5 separate regions of the Homo sapiens genome follow, and regions 2, 3, 4 and 5 are each linked to region 1. Evidence: promoter capture Hi-C in 16 types of primary human blood cells and fetal thymus (Javierre and others, 2016). All regions are on one chromosome and are shown on one strand. Each heading gives the region's core, a stretch centred on a gene start or on the middle of the fragment in contact. The rest is flanking DNA. Distances are from core to core; before and after follow the strand shown. Region 1 holds the start of LTK (leukocyte receptor tyrosine kinase). Region 2 overlaps SPTBN5 (spectrin beta, non-erythrocytic 5). Region 3 holds the start of PLA2G4B (phospholipase A2 group IVB). Region 4 overlaps MAPKBP1 (mitogen-activated protein kinase binding protein 1). Region 5 overlaps MAPKBP1 (mitogen-activated protein kinase binding protein 1).

The links. The method cuts DNA at HindIII sites, captures the fragments that hold promoters and counts their contacts. A CHiCAGO score of 5 or more calls a contact.
Region 2: a fragment that was not itself captured here is called in contact with the fragment with the promoter of LTK in region 1 in 1 of 17 cell types (erythroblasts); the score reaches 5.0 in erythroblasts.
Region 3: the fragment with the promoter of PLA2G4B here is called in contact with the fragment with the promoter of LTK in region 1 in 1 of 17 cell types (erythroblasts); the score reaches 5.8 in erythroblasts.
Region 4: a contact is called between a fragment that was not itself captured here and the fragment with the promoter of LTK in region 1, in 1 of 17 cell types (endothelial precursors). The highest score is 5.4, in endothelial precursors.
Region 5: a fragment that was not itself captured here is called in contact with the fragment with the promoter of LTK in region 1 in 1 of 17 cell types (M1 macrophages); the score reaches 5.3 in M1 macrophages.

What each region holds. Positions count from the first base shown.
Region 1 is chr15:41,512,440-41,515,319 of GRCh38, forward strand. It overlaps LTK (leukocyte receptor tyrosine kinase), which reads right to left and starts at 1,388. Exons shown (of 20, transcript NM_002344.6): 1 at 1,228-1,388; 2 at 538-681; 3 at 268-439. The coding sequence starts at 1,270. RefSeq lists an enhancer at 220-967 and a silencer at 674-753. The HindIII fragment of the contact is 8,992 bases long and covers 1-2,880 here.
Region 2 is chr15:41,889,671-41,892,550 of GRCh38, forward strand. SPTBN5 (spectrin beta, non-erythrocytic 5) reads right to left here. Exons shown (of 68, transcript NM_016642.4): 4 at 419-535. Among named protein-coding and RNA genes, the nearest start is that of SPTBN5, 2.9 kb to the right of the region's middle. RefSeq lists an enhancer at 1,099-1,974. The HindIII fragment of the contact is 1,639 bases long and covers 600-2,238 here.
Region 3 is chr15:41,837,357-41,840,236 of GRCh38, forward strand. PLA2G4B (phospholipase A2 group IVB) reads left to right here and starts at 1,491. Exons shown (of 20, transcript NM_001114633.2): 1 at 1,491-1,566; 2 at 2,802-2,874. The coding sequence starts at 1,558. JMJD7-PLA2G4B (JMJD7-PLA2G4B readthrough) reads left to right here. Exons shown (of 25, transcript NM_005090.4): 7 at 2,802-2,874. It overlaps JMJD7 (jumonji domain containing 7), which reads left to right. Exons shown (of 8, transcript NM_001114632.2): 8 at 1-225. The HindIII fragment of the contact is 20,869 bases long and covers 1-2,880 here.
Region 4 is chr15:41,810,948-41,813,827 of GRCh38, forward strand. It overlaps MAPKBP1 (mitogen-activated protein kinase binding protein 1), which reads left to right. Exons shown (of 31, transcript NM_014994.3): 5 at 231-288; 6 at 1,010-1,180; 7 at 1,569-1,706; 8 at 1,972-2,154; 9 at 2,674-2,834. Among named protein-coding and RNA genes, the nearest start is that of JMJD7, 16 kb to the right of the region's middle. The HindIII fragment of the contact is 1,838 bases long and covers 438-2,275 here.
Region 5 is chr15:41,778,072-41,780,951 of GRCh38, forward strand. All of the region lies in intron 2 of MAPKBP1 (mitogen-activated protein kinase binding protein 1), which reads left to right. Among named protein-coding and RNA genes, the nearest start is that of MAPKBP1, 5.0 kb to the left of the region's middle. The HindIII fragment of the contact is 1,930 bases long and covers 443-2,372 here.

The DNA of each region.
Region 1 (2,880 bases), core at 138-2,637:
CACTTATTTCAGGAGGGTTCGTGGAAATGTGGGGAGGCTCAAGCACCCCTTGGCGCCGCCCTGGTTGGGGGCCTTCCGCTCGGTGTAAGAGGTTCCGGGTAAGGGCTAACTCGGTGGCGACTACTGCCACCTTGAAGGGCACTCAAGGTGGACCTCCCCGCGGAATAGTCCAAGACGCAAGTCGGTGCGCACGTGGACTTCGTTACCCTGAGGGTGAAACCTCCAACTAGCAGGTCACTGTCCACCCTACCTCCGCCGTGCACTTACAGATACTGGCCAGGGCCCGGCACGCGCCACAGCTGCACGCCTCTCAGCTGCCCGGCGGCCCCCACGGTCACCACCACGCTGGTCCCCGCGTACGCCCCGTCACATTGTGTCTGTGTGGGCCCATGCCGGCCGCTGGCCCCGCAGGTAGAAAACAGCCAAGACCCCTCGGTGCCTGAGAGCAAGGAGCGAGGCAAGGGTCGTCGAGCCCCTGGCTGGGCCAGAGGGGTCTGGTATGGTGAGCGAAAGAGGAAGGAGGCGTCTAAAGCTCACCCGGAGAATTCAGCGGGGAGGCTGGCTCCAAGATACTAGGCGGGGCGCTGACTTTCGGGTCCCGGGGGCTGGGACTTGCCAGCGGCAGGGGCGAGGACCGCAGAAAAGTCTCCTGGGACCCCGGGCTAGAGCAGAGAATGGCGCCTGAAAGGTGTTGGGAGAAGGCGCAGGACGTTAAGGCGGGTGGAAATAGGATATGAAAGAAAGAGAGAACCCCGCAACAGCTGCCCTTGCGGTCGCGGCCACACCCGTCACCCGGCCCAGCCGCGCTCTCAGCCTGGAAGCCACTACCCGACTCCGGTCGCAGAAGCCCCGCGGGTGCGCGCTGATAGGTCTGCCAGTTTCTCTCCTCGAGCGCCTTTCCCAGTGAATAACTTAGGGGCCGCAATGAATTTGGTCCTGCAGCCTCCCCAATGCTTTCCTCAACTTAGATTGGTGGCCCCGCCCCAAGGCGGTGCTGAGACCCCAAAGAATGTTCCTCCTTCCCAAGCTGCGTGATCCAGACTCTGGGATTCGCACGCACTTGGCGCTTCTCGGCCCGCACTCCAGAAGCACGGACCGGAGAAATTTGGCTGTGAGAGTTCGAGGCCTCTGGAGGAACCACTGACACCTGGCCTGTTGACCGGCCACCCCCAAGCCTAGGAAAGTGCCTCAGGCTGGACGGTCCCCTGACCGCCAGATAGCACTTACCCGCGGCTCCGAACCACACCAGCAGCTGTCCCCAGCAGCCCATCCCTGTTGGGTCCACCCGGCAACAAAAGCCCTTGCGGTCGCGGCCACACCCCTGTCAACCTAAAGTTGACAGCTCATTTTGCCACGGCAGCCCTGGCCACCACTTACAGGGGTGTGCTGCCGCTGGCGAGACACTCCCCGGACCTAAAGCTGGTCTGGCCACGCCCACCTCAGACCCCAGGACGCCAGAGGAGGAAAGGGAGGGGCGTGTGGGCAGCGAGGTCCCTACGCTTCCGGGAGGAGCCTTAAGGAGTCCCCACCCAGGGGTTCTAGTTTCCAGCCGTCAGATGTGCCGCAGCCTGCTGGGAGCTCCGGTAGGTTTGAGGCCGGAGAGGAGGTGCCCCACGCTTAAAGTGGGAGCCACACCTCGGACACCAGGTGGGGGCTTCCAGGTTCCTGAGGACAGGAGCAGTGGAGTGTGCACTTCATTTGTGGCAGTGGTGGTGGTGGTGAGTGTGTGGCATGCGTCACCACACGTGGGAAGTACTCTAAACTGCTCCAAGTAAGGCCTCATTACCTGCCATTACTTGTGCCTTTTAGTGGTGCCTTTGTGACTGCAAGGCTGAACCTCATTGCTACTCCCAGAAACCTGGATCTCTGTGTTTGCCTCATATAATTCCGTTGCCTGTGTTACCCCTGTGCACAGCCTCTCACTGTGATGGGGTGAAAGACTGGACCAGACGTTAGAAGATCCGAGTGTTTTTAGTAGCACTGAAGGTCAATAGATGATAGGTAGGTAGACCGATCGATCGATTGATCTTGAGCACTAGTACTGGCACCTCTGGTCAATGGGTGATGTAGCACAGGCCACAACTGCCCTGAGAGTTTCCCCACCACCTGCAAAATCATATGAAGGGAAATTGCTCTGTAAGGTACCCTACAAATGTGGGAGCCACTCCCTTCAGGTAGTTTTGTGTCTTGAGTCTTCGATCATTTGCTTAAATGATCATTTGCCGGGTGCGGTGGTTCATGCCTGTAATCCTAGCACTTTGGGAGGCTGAGGCGGGCAGATCACCTGAGGTCAGGAGTTCGAGACTAGCTAGACCATCATGGCAAAATCCCGTCTCTACTAAAAATACAAAATCAGACACACGTGGTAGCGCACGCCTGTAATCCCAGCTACTCTGGAGGCTGAGGCAGGAGAATGGCTTGAACCTGGGAGGCAGAGGTTGCAGAGACGAGATCGCACCATTGCACTCCAGCCTGGGCAACAAGAGCAAAGCCCCATCTCAAAAAAAAAAAAAAAAAAAAAATCCTAACTTGAAAGTCTGAGACCTATGTTTAATACAAAATACTTCAAAAGAGAAGTTATAGTAGTTAGCTACTTGGTAAAGTCTGAGTATAATTCAAGGTGTAAACAGAACAGTGATTTTGTAAAAAGTCTGGTCTCAGCCAGGCGTGGTGGCTTACACCTGTAATCCCAGCACTTTGGGAGGCCAAGGGGACGGTGGGGGTGGGGTGGATCACAAGGTCAGGAGTTCAAGACCAGCCTGGCTAAGATGGTGAAACCCCGTCTCTACTAAAAATACAAAAATTAGCCGTGCGTGGTGGCAGGTGCCTGTAATCCCAGCTACTTGGGAGGCTGAGGCAGAGAATTGCTTGAACCTGGAA
Region 2 (2,880 bases), core at 169-2,668, 380 kb after region 1:
GCCAGGGACTTTGTAAACCTCCAGAGCTGGGACTCCCTCCACACATTTCATTTTTCCCAACAGTACATTGTGGTGTAATGGAAGTTACAGAGCCTCAGTGCCAAGTGGGGAGCACCACACAGGGGTGAAAGTGGGTGCTGGGCAGTGACCCTGAACCCCCCACTAGTGAATGACTTGCCCAGACCTGGTTTGAAGCCCATGGCCCTGGCCCTCACTTTAGCATATTACAATGTTACAATATCTCTGGTATCCTGGGTTCTTCACCCATGGTTGGAGAGTGAATATGGACTTTGCAGTTTCCAGGATCTCCTATGGGGATCATAAAAGTTGTGTGGAACTTATGAATCCCCAGGGGTCTGAGGTGAGGCCAGGGCTGGGCTGGGTCACCAGGTGCTGGGTACTGGGGACTGAGCCATACCTTGTCCAAGGAGATGTGGGAGATCTGGAAACGCAGAATGATGACCCAGATGAGTCCCAGGATGAGTGTCTGGTCTCCGTCCACGATGTTCTCTGGCCCGATGAGTGGTACTGGCACCTGTGGGCACAGTTGGATGGGCTAAGCCATGAAGCCCATGTCCAGAGAGGACTCAGTCACCAAAAGCTTAGGGGGCCAGCTGCGGGATGGGAGCATCCTGGAATCTATCCTGCCCCAGCTGGGAGTTCCCTCAGGGAGAAGCAGGCAGGGGATAAGTCCAGGAAAGCAAAGGCTTCCTGCCTGGTTGGAGCCATGGCCTCAAGCCCACCTGGGTGAAGCCCCAACCTGGTGAACTGGGCTGGGCCCTCAGAGCAGGAGGACTCCCTGTGTGTGGGCTACAGGTAGACCTGGGCCAAGATCAGTGGTTCAGCTGCAGGGTTTGGAAATGAGGGGTCATAACAGTCAATGTGTGAGCCCAACAGACAATAGCAACTGTCTGCCTCCATCTCCCAGGGTGTCCTGGGATCTTCAGGGGGTGGCTGGGTCCCTGGGCTCACACCCAAATCTCAGCCCTCTTCTTCTGTTCCGGCTCCAACAGGGCCAGCTATAAATCCAGACTCCCAGGCTCCACCCAGTCAGACTGTCTTGGGCCAGAGCCTGGGAATTTGCACTTGAACAACACCTTGGGTGGCTCTTAGGTACACCAAAGTTGAGACTCCTCTGCCCTACATCCTGCCATTTGGACAGGGAGGATGGGTGAGTCAAGGGGAGAAGCCCTGCAGGATCTGGCCCCCAGCCCCCTGTGGCTCCATCTTCCACCCTGTGGAATCACATAGCTCCAAGGCCCATGGGATTCTTATAGTTCCATGGGATTCTAAGCACAGGACTTCAGGCCTTTGCAGGGCCGTGCCTGCTGTCTGAAAGTATTCTCCCAGGTATCTGCATGGCTATTCACCTCCCTGCCTTTAACTCTTCACTCAGATGTTGCCTAGCCTGACCACTTTATTTAACACAGAAACTTAAGGACTATTTCTCCCACCCAAATACACACTCTCGATCCCCTTGCCCTGCTCAAGTGAGGATCTTGGCTTTGTTTTCTGGTGTATCCTAGGGGAGTGGCACACAGCAGGCAATCGATCAGTAAGTACTGAATGGAGAAAGAAAAGGAGTGAGACTTTCCATAAGACCTGAAGGGCAACTGGCTTCAGCCGGCCACTACTAGCCCTGTGGGAGGAGCTGCAATCCTGGGTGTCCCCCTAGGTAAACTTTGGTATATCTGGCTGGCCTCTAAAGGATCCCACCCATGCTCCTGGGGTGGATTCCACCTGCCATGTCAATCACCTTGGCTTAGAGTTGGAGCCTCTGGTGAGTGGGGTGTTTGTCTGCTCCTCCCAGCTCCTGAGAGCCTATCCTCCTGACTTCCTATTGAGCGATGTCACGCTGGTGGCTTAAACTCACCGTGATGGGGGGTATTAACGCCATAGGATCAGCGAATACAGCACACTGGAGTTTTTATTTCCCCCAGAGAATCATTTGTTAAACGTTTACCAGCACACCGCTGATCTGGGTTCAATGAATCTGTCTCCCTTTGAAGCCAGGTGCCTTGAGGTGGGGGTCTGGGCTTTGCTTAGTGGAGCCCAGCGCCTGCATAGAATGCCCAGGGCATGGGAGCATCTCCATAAGCGAATGCATCCCTCATTCTGCCACACATTCCCTGTGTGTTTGCGGCAACTCCGTCATCCTTTCTAGACCACAGTTGCCTCCTATGTGTATGGAGACAAGGATGTCACCCTCACAGGTATCAGTGACATGCTGTATATTAAAGCTTGGGGAGAGCTGCAACACCTCTGACAAAGGCTGTGGGGCTTACACCCTTCCCCAGTTCCTGGAGGGGAGATGACTGGCTCACAGGGTCATTGTCCCTGGATCAACTAGGGCCCAGCATTCTGCAGCTGGCAGCGTTCTGCTCTTGCACCTGCTCAGGACAGCAGTCACTCCCATTCCCTTTGCTTGGGCTTCTCCCCTCCCTGGCTTTCCTCCAACACACCCCAGGAGGCTGGATGTAAGCTCCACTCCAGGATATAGTGATAGGCACGCACAGTCAGGCTCCATCCAGCCAGGCCCAGCTCAGTGACTTCACAGCCTCCAGGGACAGCCACCTCCAGGAGCCCTTGGCCTTCACAGTTCCCGGTTTCCAATGATCCCTTTGCCCCACCCCACCCCTGCACCAGCCCCTCACCCTGGCCATGAGGGTCCCTCTGTCCCTGGAGCTCCGGCCTCCTTTTAGTGCCCATCTCCTTAGCCTGTCCCTTTCTTTCAGGTGACTCTGCCTCCCCCCATTTGCTGAGGCCTCCTCCCTCCTTCTCCAAGACAGGCCCTGCTCCTCTTCCCCACCTGCCGTCTTAGTCCCACATCTGGGCTCTGTTGGCTGGTTAACCATCGATCTTGCCTGGTAAATAATTCAG
Region 3 (2,880 bases), core at 241-2,740, 330 kb after region 1:
CAGGAAGTTGCCACACAGGTGAGCAGAGTGGGGATCAGGTGCAGCGGCACCTCTCCCCAGCGCTGTGATGTTGGGCGAGTCACTGCGTCTCGGGCATTGGTGTCCTGTCAGTAAAGAGATAATAATGGCTGTACCTCGCGGGGCTGTTGTGGGCTTGGAGATGATGTCTATGAGGACCAGCATGGAGCTGGCACACAGGACATGTTGAATAAAAGGTAGCTGTGAGTCGTATGTCCTTTTTTTTTTTTTTTTAAGATGGGGTCTCGCTCTGTCACCCAGGCTGGAGTGCAGTGGTGTGATGTCAGCTCACTGCAAGCTCCGCCTCCCAGGTTCACACTATTCTGCCTCAGCCTCCCAAGTAGCTGGGACTACAGGTGCGTGCCACCATGCCCGGCTAATTTTTTTGTATTTTTAGTAGAGACGGGGTTTCACCGTGTTAGCCAGTATGGTCTTGATCTCCTGACCTCGTGATCCACCTGCCTCGGCCTCCCAAAAGTGCTGGGATTACAGGTGTGAGCTGCTGCGCCTGGCTTATGAGTCGTATGTTCTGATCCTCCCTCTTGAAGTTGCCTTCTGTGGTCTAAGGAGGGCCTGAAGGTTCAGGTAAAAACTTCAGGGTGACCTTCACTGGGGGTGAGGGCTGGATCCCAGCCTGGGCCCAAAGAGCCGTCAGCTGCCCAAGTCCCGCTGTCCATGAGAGTCACCGCAGCCCCTCCCTGGGACAAGCAAGCAGACCTGAGTCTTGTAGCTCTCTGGTCCGGACCTCTTTGCCCAGGACCTTGAGAGCTATTCCTAGCTCTCCTATGGTTACTGTCCTCCCCCAGTTCAGGGGCAGCAGGTGGGACCTGGTGCCCTGGGGATAACCCCTGTTTCTCCCATAACAGGCACAGGCAGGAAGGGACGGAAGCCCCCGCCTCTCCTGGGGCTGTCCCTCTGAGGAAAGAGTTGGTCTCCACACGCTGACCCCCCCACAAACCATGCCCTGGAGGCAGAAGAACCCCCTGCCCCTGAGTGCCAACCCACAGGCCTCATCCCTGGCCACTCAGCACCTAGCTTTGAAGGGCTGTTTTATGTGACAGCCACTCCCCTGCCTGTCGTGAGGGGGCCCGGGTGTTCATCTCAGATTGATGGATCCCTGCCATCAAGACTGGGCATTCCTGTCCAACAGGTGCCAGAGTTGCGAAAGGCCTGTGACAGGGAACTCCACTCTTCCCTTGGCTGCTGTTCTGGGACTCACCCCTGCTTTCCTTCTGCTCAGCCCCTGGCAGCAAGCTCTCCAGGCTGGGATTGCAGGGCTGGGTGGGGCAGGCCCAGCTGGTAAAGGCTGGCGAGTGCCACAGAGGTATCAGGAGCTCTAGTATAGGCTTAGGGTGCCTCATTTCCTGGACAGGTGGCTGGTTCAGGAGTGGGTGTGGAGCTTAGGTGGAGCAGAGGCGGCGGGTAGGAGGGACTTGGGACCAATTGGGACATCACATCCCTGGCTCTGGGTTAGAAAGCTGACAGTCCTTGATCCTGTGGCCACTGCCCCATCATTCCTGCTCCTGAGGACTCAGTCTCATGGCTGTGGTAAGGCCTGGCAGGGCCCTGGGTCCCTACTGGGACCCCTGGTCTCTACCTGGGGCCTAGTTAATATGTTTCTTATGGGAGCTGTGGTCTTCTCCAGGGGTAGGGAGGGGAGTTTATTGACCACAAGACCAGGGTAGCGGGCAGAAGCCAGGGGAGGAGGAGGCTTGGGGATGAGGGATCCGTCCTGAGTGTTTTCTGTCCTGGGAACGGGCTCCTGGCAGAGCTCCCTGGCACCACAGATTTGGGCCCTGGAGACTCAGAGGCTCCCAGCTGCCGCCCTGAGGCCCTGGAAGCAAGTGGCTCCTCCATGCTCCTCTGACTCAGTTGCCTGGAGTGTGAGGGCCCTGGGCTGACCCTGGTGGATGAGGCCCTCCAGCACTGCCCTGGACCTGGTTGCTCCCTGGACTTGACCTGTTAGGGTCCTTGTGGAGGCAGGTGGAAGGCCGAAAGGAAGCAGTTGGCACAGGCTTCCCTGGTCCCGGTGCGCCTGCCAGGCTGCATTCCCAGAACCAGGGGCATGGGTTTGGAGGGAGCTACCGGGGGACCATCTTCAGCCTGACCTGGCAGGACCTGGAGGACATGACAGCCTGTGAGGGGTCTGAGCTAGGAGCCGCCTCCCCTGCCCAGGAGAGAGCCCATTTCCAGGATGCTCTTCTGACCAGGGTGGAGGGAGGGTACGAGAGCAGCTCAGCCTGGGGCCCAAGGCCCTGATGTGCTACTTCCCCTCCCTCGATAGCTTATGTCCCCTGCCACCCAAGACCAGCCGGAAAGCTGCTTAGCTGGGGTGTGGGCTGGGGATGTGGGGTGGAGAGCCTAAAGGATACTAGCCCGAGAAGGTGGAAGCAGGTCTGTGTGAGGCATAAATCTGGAGCCAGCCTGCCCGGGCTCCAACCCCAATTGTGGACCTCAGGCAAGTGACTGCTTCTCTGTGCCTCAGTTTCCTTGTGGAGTGGGCCATCGTAAATAGTATCTGTGCATAAGGTGGTTGTGCGATAAATGAGTTAATGTATGCAAAGCCCTTGGCCCAGAGCCGGCGCAGAGCATTGTGTAAGTGCTGGCAGGCGTCATGATGGAGATATCATGTCTCCTCTTGTTGATTCAGGATTCTGATGAGATGGAGGATGGGCCTGGGGTTCAGGATTAGGCCTTGAGGCACTGCTCCAGCCTCCTTTGTGGCCCCTGTCACCCTTGGCTTCATCGGCCCGTAGCAGGTCTCCCCTCTCCCACCTCTGCAGGCAGAGGTGTCCAGGACCTGCCTGCTCACGGTTCGTGTCCTGCAGGCCCATCGCCTACCCTCTAAGGACCTAGGTGAGT
Region 4 (2,880 bases), core at 107-2,606, 300 kb after region 1:
AAATGGGCTGGGGTCCTCAGGATACCTCTTCCTTCTGGGAGCTATGAGAAGGGCACTGTCTAGAGTCTCTATGGCTCTGGGGGCTGGGACCTGGTTGGGTCCTAAAGCCAGATGGGGAAGTGCCACATGTGCCATTGGTGTCTGCTGGTCTCACCTTTTGAGAGGCTGGGAGGGGGCTAGGCTTAGGCCAGGCTGCCAGTGCCCCTCTGAGCCTGCCCCATCTCTTGCAGGAAAACCATCACTGCCCTTGCCTTCTCCCCTGATGGCAAGTACTTGGTCACTGGAGAGGTGAGTGAGGAAGAGGGCTGGCAGTACTGTAAAGAGGGCAGGTGTCCTGGCCTCCGCAGAGAGCTGCGGTCCTAGGCCTGCTGTCACTTTGGCTTCTGAAACAGACACCAAATCCTGGTTTTCGCTATACCTTAAAATAGTGGTTCTCAAGCTTTAGTGTACATCAGAATCACTTGGAGGGCTTGTGAAAGCACACATCACTAGCCTGGTCCTCAGAGTTTCTGATTCTGTAGGTCTGGGATGGGAGTCTGAAATGTGCATTTGTAACAAGTTCCCAGAGAGTGCTGATCCTGCTGGTGAAGGAAGCGTGCTTTGGAAACCACTGCCTTAACTATTCCTTACCCCCGGGGGCCCCCTGCTGGGCTCAGGAGGAACGCTTCTGTCCTGGCGGCGTAGTCTTACTAGGGGCAGAAATAGACCTGAGTGGTAGTGGCTCTCAATGCCGGCTGCCCATCAGAACCATTCAGGGAGCTTTGAACAACCTGAAGTACAGACGGCCACCCAGAGATGCTGACTAAAATCCGGGGCCACTTTCTTCCTGGTAATCACTGTTGCCCTCAGATCTTTATCATATTTCCTCTATACCCTGCCCTGACTTTTGGCTGGGGAAGTGATGGTATCTAGTAGCTGAGGAGGCGAGGGCCCCGCTCTGGAAGACGAAGTGGGGCTGTATGCCTGTGGAGAAGTCAAGAACTCACTTCCAGTTCTTGCCTCCCTGCAGAGTGGGCACATGCCTGCCGTGCGGGTTTGGGACGTGGCAGAGCACAGCCAGGTGGCCGAGCTGCAGGAGCACAAGTATGGTGTGGCTTGTGTGGCCTTCTCTCCTAGCGCCAAGTACATTGTCTCTGTGGGCTACCAGCATGACATGATCGTCAACGTGTGGGCCTGGAAGGTGAGTGGCTGGGTGGGGTGGCCTGGCAGCCTCACAGGGGTCAAGTGTCAGCTGGGGAGGCAAGAGACTGCTGACCTGCACTGCTCCATTCCACCCCACTGAACCATTCTCATTCTAGAAAGTTATTTGAAGCAGAAAAGAGCAACTGTGTGGCCAAGCATGTTGGTTGAAGGGGCTAGCTTTATGCCTTCAAAGACTTCTGCAGGAAACGAATCTTTTCAGCTCCTCTAGAAAGGGATTATTTCCCTACCCCTCTTTTTCTGGCCAGTAAATTCTGGAAAGAAACACTTTGTCAAGTACAAATTCTAATTCTCCTCCATTCTCTGAGTCACTGTCTTCTTAGCTCCAAGAGACAGAGCCTTGATTCTTCCTTTGGCATCCCCTCCAGAAAAACATTGTGGTGGCCTCCAACAAGGTGTCCAGTCGGGTGACAGCAGTGTCCTTCTCTGAGGATTGCAGCTACTTTGTCACTGCAGGCAACCGACACATCAAATTCTGGTATCTCGATGACAGCAAGACCTCAAAGGTGAGGTGCTGAAGCTGGGAGTAGCCACCAAGGCCCCTGGCAGGGCCTGCCCAGCCCAACCCAGGAGACTCTGCCCCACTTGGGCCTCTCTCTGCATTCCCAGCAGTCATGCAGAAGTTTTGGATGAGCCAGATGCTGTCTGGGCTGAGGAGTAGGCCCAAAGAGCAAGGAGGTGCTGGAGGCGTCCCCTGTACTCTCCTAGGGCCCAGTTTCCAGGGGCAGGCTCTGGGGTGGATGGGGGTGTAACAGTGGTGTGCCTCCACAGGTGAATGCCACTGTGCCCTTGCTGGGCCGCTCAGGGCTGCTGGGAGAGCTACGGAACAACCTATTCACTGATGTGGCCTGTGGCAGAGGAAAAAAGGCGGACAGTACCTTCTGCATCACGTCCTCAGGGCTGCTGTGCGAGTTCAGTGATCGAAGGCTTTTGGACAAGTGGGTGGAGCTGAGGGTAAGTACCTCCGTCCCCAGGGGTAGGGTCTGCTCATGTCTCAGCTCAGGGGAGAACTAGTGCCCAGGGCTTCAGACTAGGGGCTGGTCCCTTGTGCATACGGGAGATCCCAGGAGAACGAAGCTTGGGGGAGCTAGAGCTTGGCCCATTTCCAGCCCTTGGTGATCTGTATAACTGCCTCCTCTCTGCTCTTTCTGTCTCTTTCCCCTGCTTTCCTCTTCCGCTCAGAACATAGACAGCTTCACAGTAAGTGGTGCCTGCACCTTCCTCTCTTTCTCATGCTATTTCTTTCTCTTCACTGGGCTTTTCCTACTGGATCCTCTGGTGCCTAGAAGAATCCTCGGTTCCTAATCCCTGGCTGGACAGGGCTGAGGGGCTCAGAACAGGGCAGCTGGGCGGCTTTTCCCTTGCCCCTGCCTTGGCCGGTCCCTCCTCTTGGCAGGTGGCTGTTGATGGGTGGGGAGGAGAGAAGACTGAGTGGGCAGGTGGCCTTGCTGAGCTGAGCCACTCTGCCCACAGACCACAGTGGCCCACTGCATCTCTGTGAGCCAAGACTACATCTTCTGTGGCTGTGCTGATGGCACCGTGCGCCTTTTCAACCCCTCTAACCTGCACTTCCTTAGCACCTTGCCCCGACCCCATGCTCTGGGGACAGACATTGCTAGCGTCACCGAGGCCAGGTGAGCTATGTGGGCCCCCCTTCCTCCATTTGTAGCCTTACCCCTG
Region 5 (2,880 bases), core at 158-2,657, 270 kb after region 1:
TATTTTATGTATGTCTTCATTTCCTAAGGATCGGGGTCATGCTCTTTATTTCCTTTACATCACACCGTTTAGGACAGTGTAAGATAGGCAGTAAGTACTAAAAAAAATAAATGAGACTAATTTAAAGATGTCAAATATAGTGCGGGATAAACTTGGACATCCAGGTGAATAAAATAATCAGGAGGAATTTATGACCTCTTTAGAAGAGAGATCAAAACTACGATTAATAAAATGGTGACAAAGAAGTAGAGATGCAGCCTAATTAGGTGTGAAGAACATAAGAGAGAAGAAGTCCACGTATGCAGAAAGCAGTGCTCAGTAAAGGGTTCTTAATTCAGGGGAGACCTAGTTAAAAATATGGCTAAAAGCTGGTGTGAGAGAGCCAGTGGAGGTGGAGATTTAAGTTACATCAAAGAGTAGATGAGTGCTGAGATTTTTATTAAGCTTTTTCAGAGGGAGGGGAGTCTCTTCAGTGGAGTACATTGGAAAAGACTGATTTAAAGTTTTATGCTAAATCAGCTTAGTCTTGGTGAAGTGTGACTTGAAGTTATCAGTAAATACCCAAGTTCAAATCCTGTAGACTTGTCATTTCCTGCCTCTCATCTCTAAGTTGGGCTGTGTTTTCCTTAAGAAGCAAATGTATGTGTTCTTGATAGCTAACCCTCCTCCTCTGAAAGTTTCTGAAAGATTTTTATGTGGAGGGAGCTGGGCTTGTTTTCAAGGACAAAGGATAGAAATGGACCAAAGCCCAGCAGGCAAGATTTAAGTTAGGGTTACAAAAGGATTGTCTGTGCTGGAGGGTTGCTAGATTTTTAAAAAGTAACTGAAGGAGGTATTGAGATCGTCCTCCTCCTTAAGAGCCATTAATCTGATCTAGGTTATATTATTCCTTCTGGAAACAATGGGTAAGATGACTTTCTTCTAGTTGTGTTTTTTTAATTGTAAATCTAATTCTTCTTTCTCTATTTGTTTCCCCAAGTTTTTTTCCTGTATAGTTGTGTGGTGGTACTTCGAGCCTTTTGAGAAGTGACTCTAAGAAGAGTTTGGTTGGGTGGGTTTCATGAAGGAGAAAAAGTGGCAATACTCTAATTTCAGCTTTTGCTCAGTGTTTGAACGCATATATGATTTGGTATTGGGGAAACATACTCATTTTTTTCGAGACGGAGTCTTGCTCTGTTGCCCAGGCTGGAGTACAGTGGCGTGATCTCGGCTCACTGCAAACTCTGCCTCCCGGGTTCAAGCGATTCTCCTGCCTCAGCCTCCTGAGTAGCTGGGATTACAGGCGCGTGCCACCACGCCGGGCTAATTTTTTTATTTTTAGTAGAAACGGTGTTTCACCATGTTGGTCAGGCTGGTCTCAAACTCCTGACCTCGTGATCTGCCTGCCTCAGCCTCCCAAAGTGCTGGGATTACAGGTATGAGCCACCACGCCCGGCCAGTTATTTTTGTTTTTTGTAGAGACAGAGTCTTACGATGTTGCTCAGGCTGGTCTCAAACTTCTGGCCTCAAGGGCTCCTCCTGCCACAGCCTCCCAAAGTGCTGGGATTACAGGCATGAGCCACCATGCCCAGCCCCTGCCTTTCTGAGTAGCTGGGACTAGTGGTGCTTGCCTCTGCGCCAGGCTCCAGTCATTTCTTAGTGTTCAATACACACGCTCTGAGTTCTCCACATAGAATAGATGACTAAGAGTGGATGTCCCTGTGGCCAGCAGCTATGCCCCTCACCAGCCTTTGTGAATGACCTTCAAAGCTCTTGTTGAATTTTCTGTCTCTGAGGTCTCTTGAAATAAGGCTTGTGAAGTGTCTTGAGATCCTCACAACAGGTGGTATACAATGAAAAATGTCAATGTTCTCCTAGTTTTGTTTCTTTGATCACCATTTCATCCCTCCTTCCGGTGCCTGCAGCTGCCCTCAGCCTTCAAAGTGATTCTCACTGGAGAGAGAGGATGCTTCTCTCCCTGGACCCAACACCTCTTCATTTACTGTCTAAAAATAGCCCAGCCTCTTCAGGCTGGGAGTTGTCTTTCGAAACCTCCTCTCACCTACTTGGCCTCACTCATTTCAAAGTGGAAGAGCACTACTGCTTTCCAAGTTTTTCTCTCTTTCAGTTTGCAATTTAGGGCAGGTTCCCTTCTTGGATTTGAGTCAATGTCTTATTTCCTGCTGGTATTTTGAATGTCTTTCATTTGTCACCTGTGTATTTTCATTTCTTGACTGATGAAAAAACAGGTAGAAATGAGGCTTCAGCCTGACATCTGTAACCTCCCCACCAACCCTCTGAGTCTGAAGTTGGGCTTGATGCTGTTATCACTGACCCTTTGTTTGGAGAAAACAGTCCAAGGTTTGAAATTGGGGCTATGTTTATTCAAACTAAGCTTCTCTGAGCACATGGTCTGTCCCACTCATCCTCAGAGTATCCGTTGGTTTTACTTCATGTTCAGACTGCAGTGTTGTTAAAGAAATAAAGCTACAGTGTTTTCAGAAGGATTTGTTATATTATACTTCATGTTCCCACTGCTCCAGGCTAAGCGTCTCCTCTGGGCTCCATTGTTTAATGCAGGACAAAGCCAGGTTTTCTGGCAGCTTCCTTTTCATAGCAATTCTCAGTAGAGGTATAGAATGAGACCTGCCTACCTTCTTGGGTGTTTATTACCCCATTTGTGGATTTTACTTTAACTTCTGTTACCTTAAAAAAAAAAAAAAAAGTTGGTGAGGAAGGCAAGAAATAAAAGTGAGTATGACAGCCAGACTGGGTAGTGTGGATTTTTAGCGTTGGTATTTTTGAATGTCCAGATTTTCCAAATCCTTCCTTCCTTCCTTTCAACAGTTATAGCAACAGGTCCAGTGCTTCTTCATTGGTCACATTATTTTCCTCTGGTTT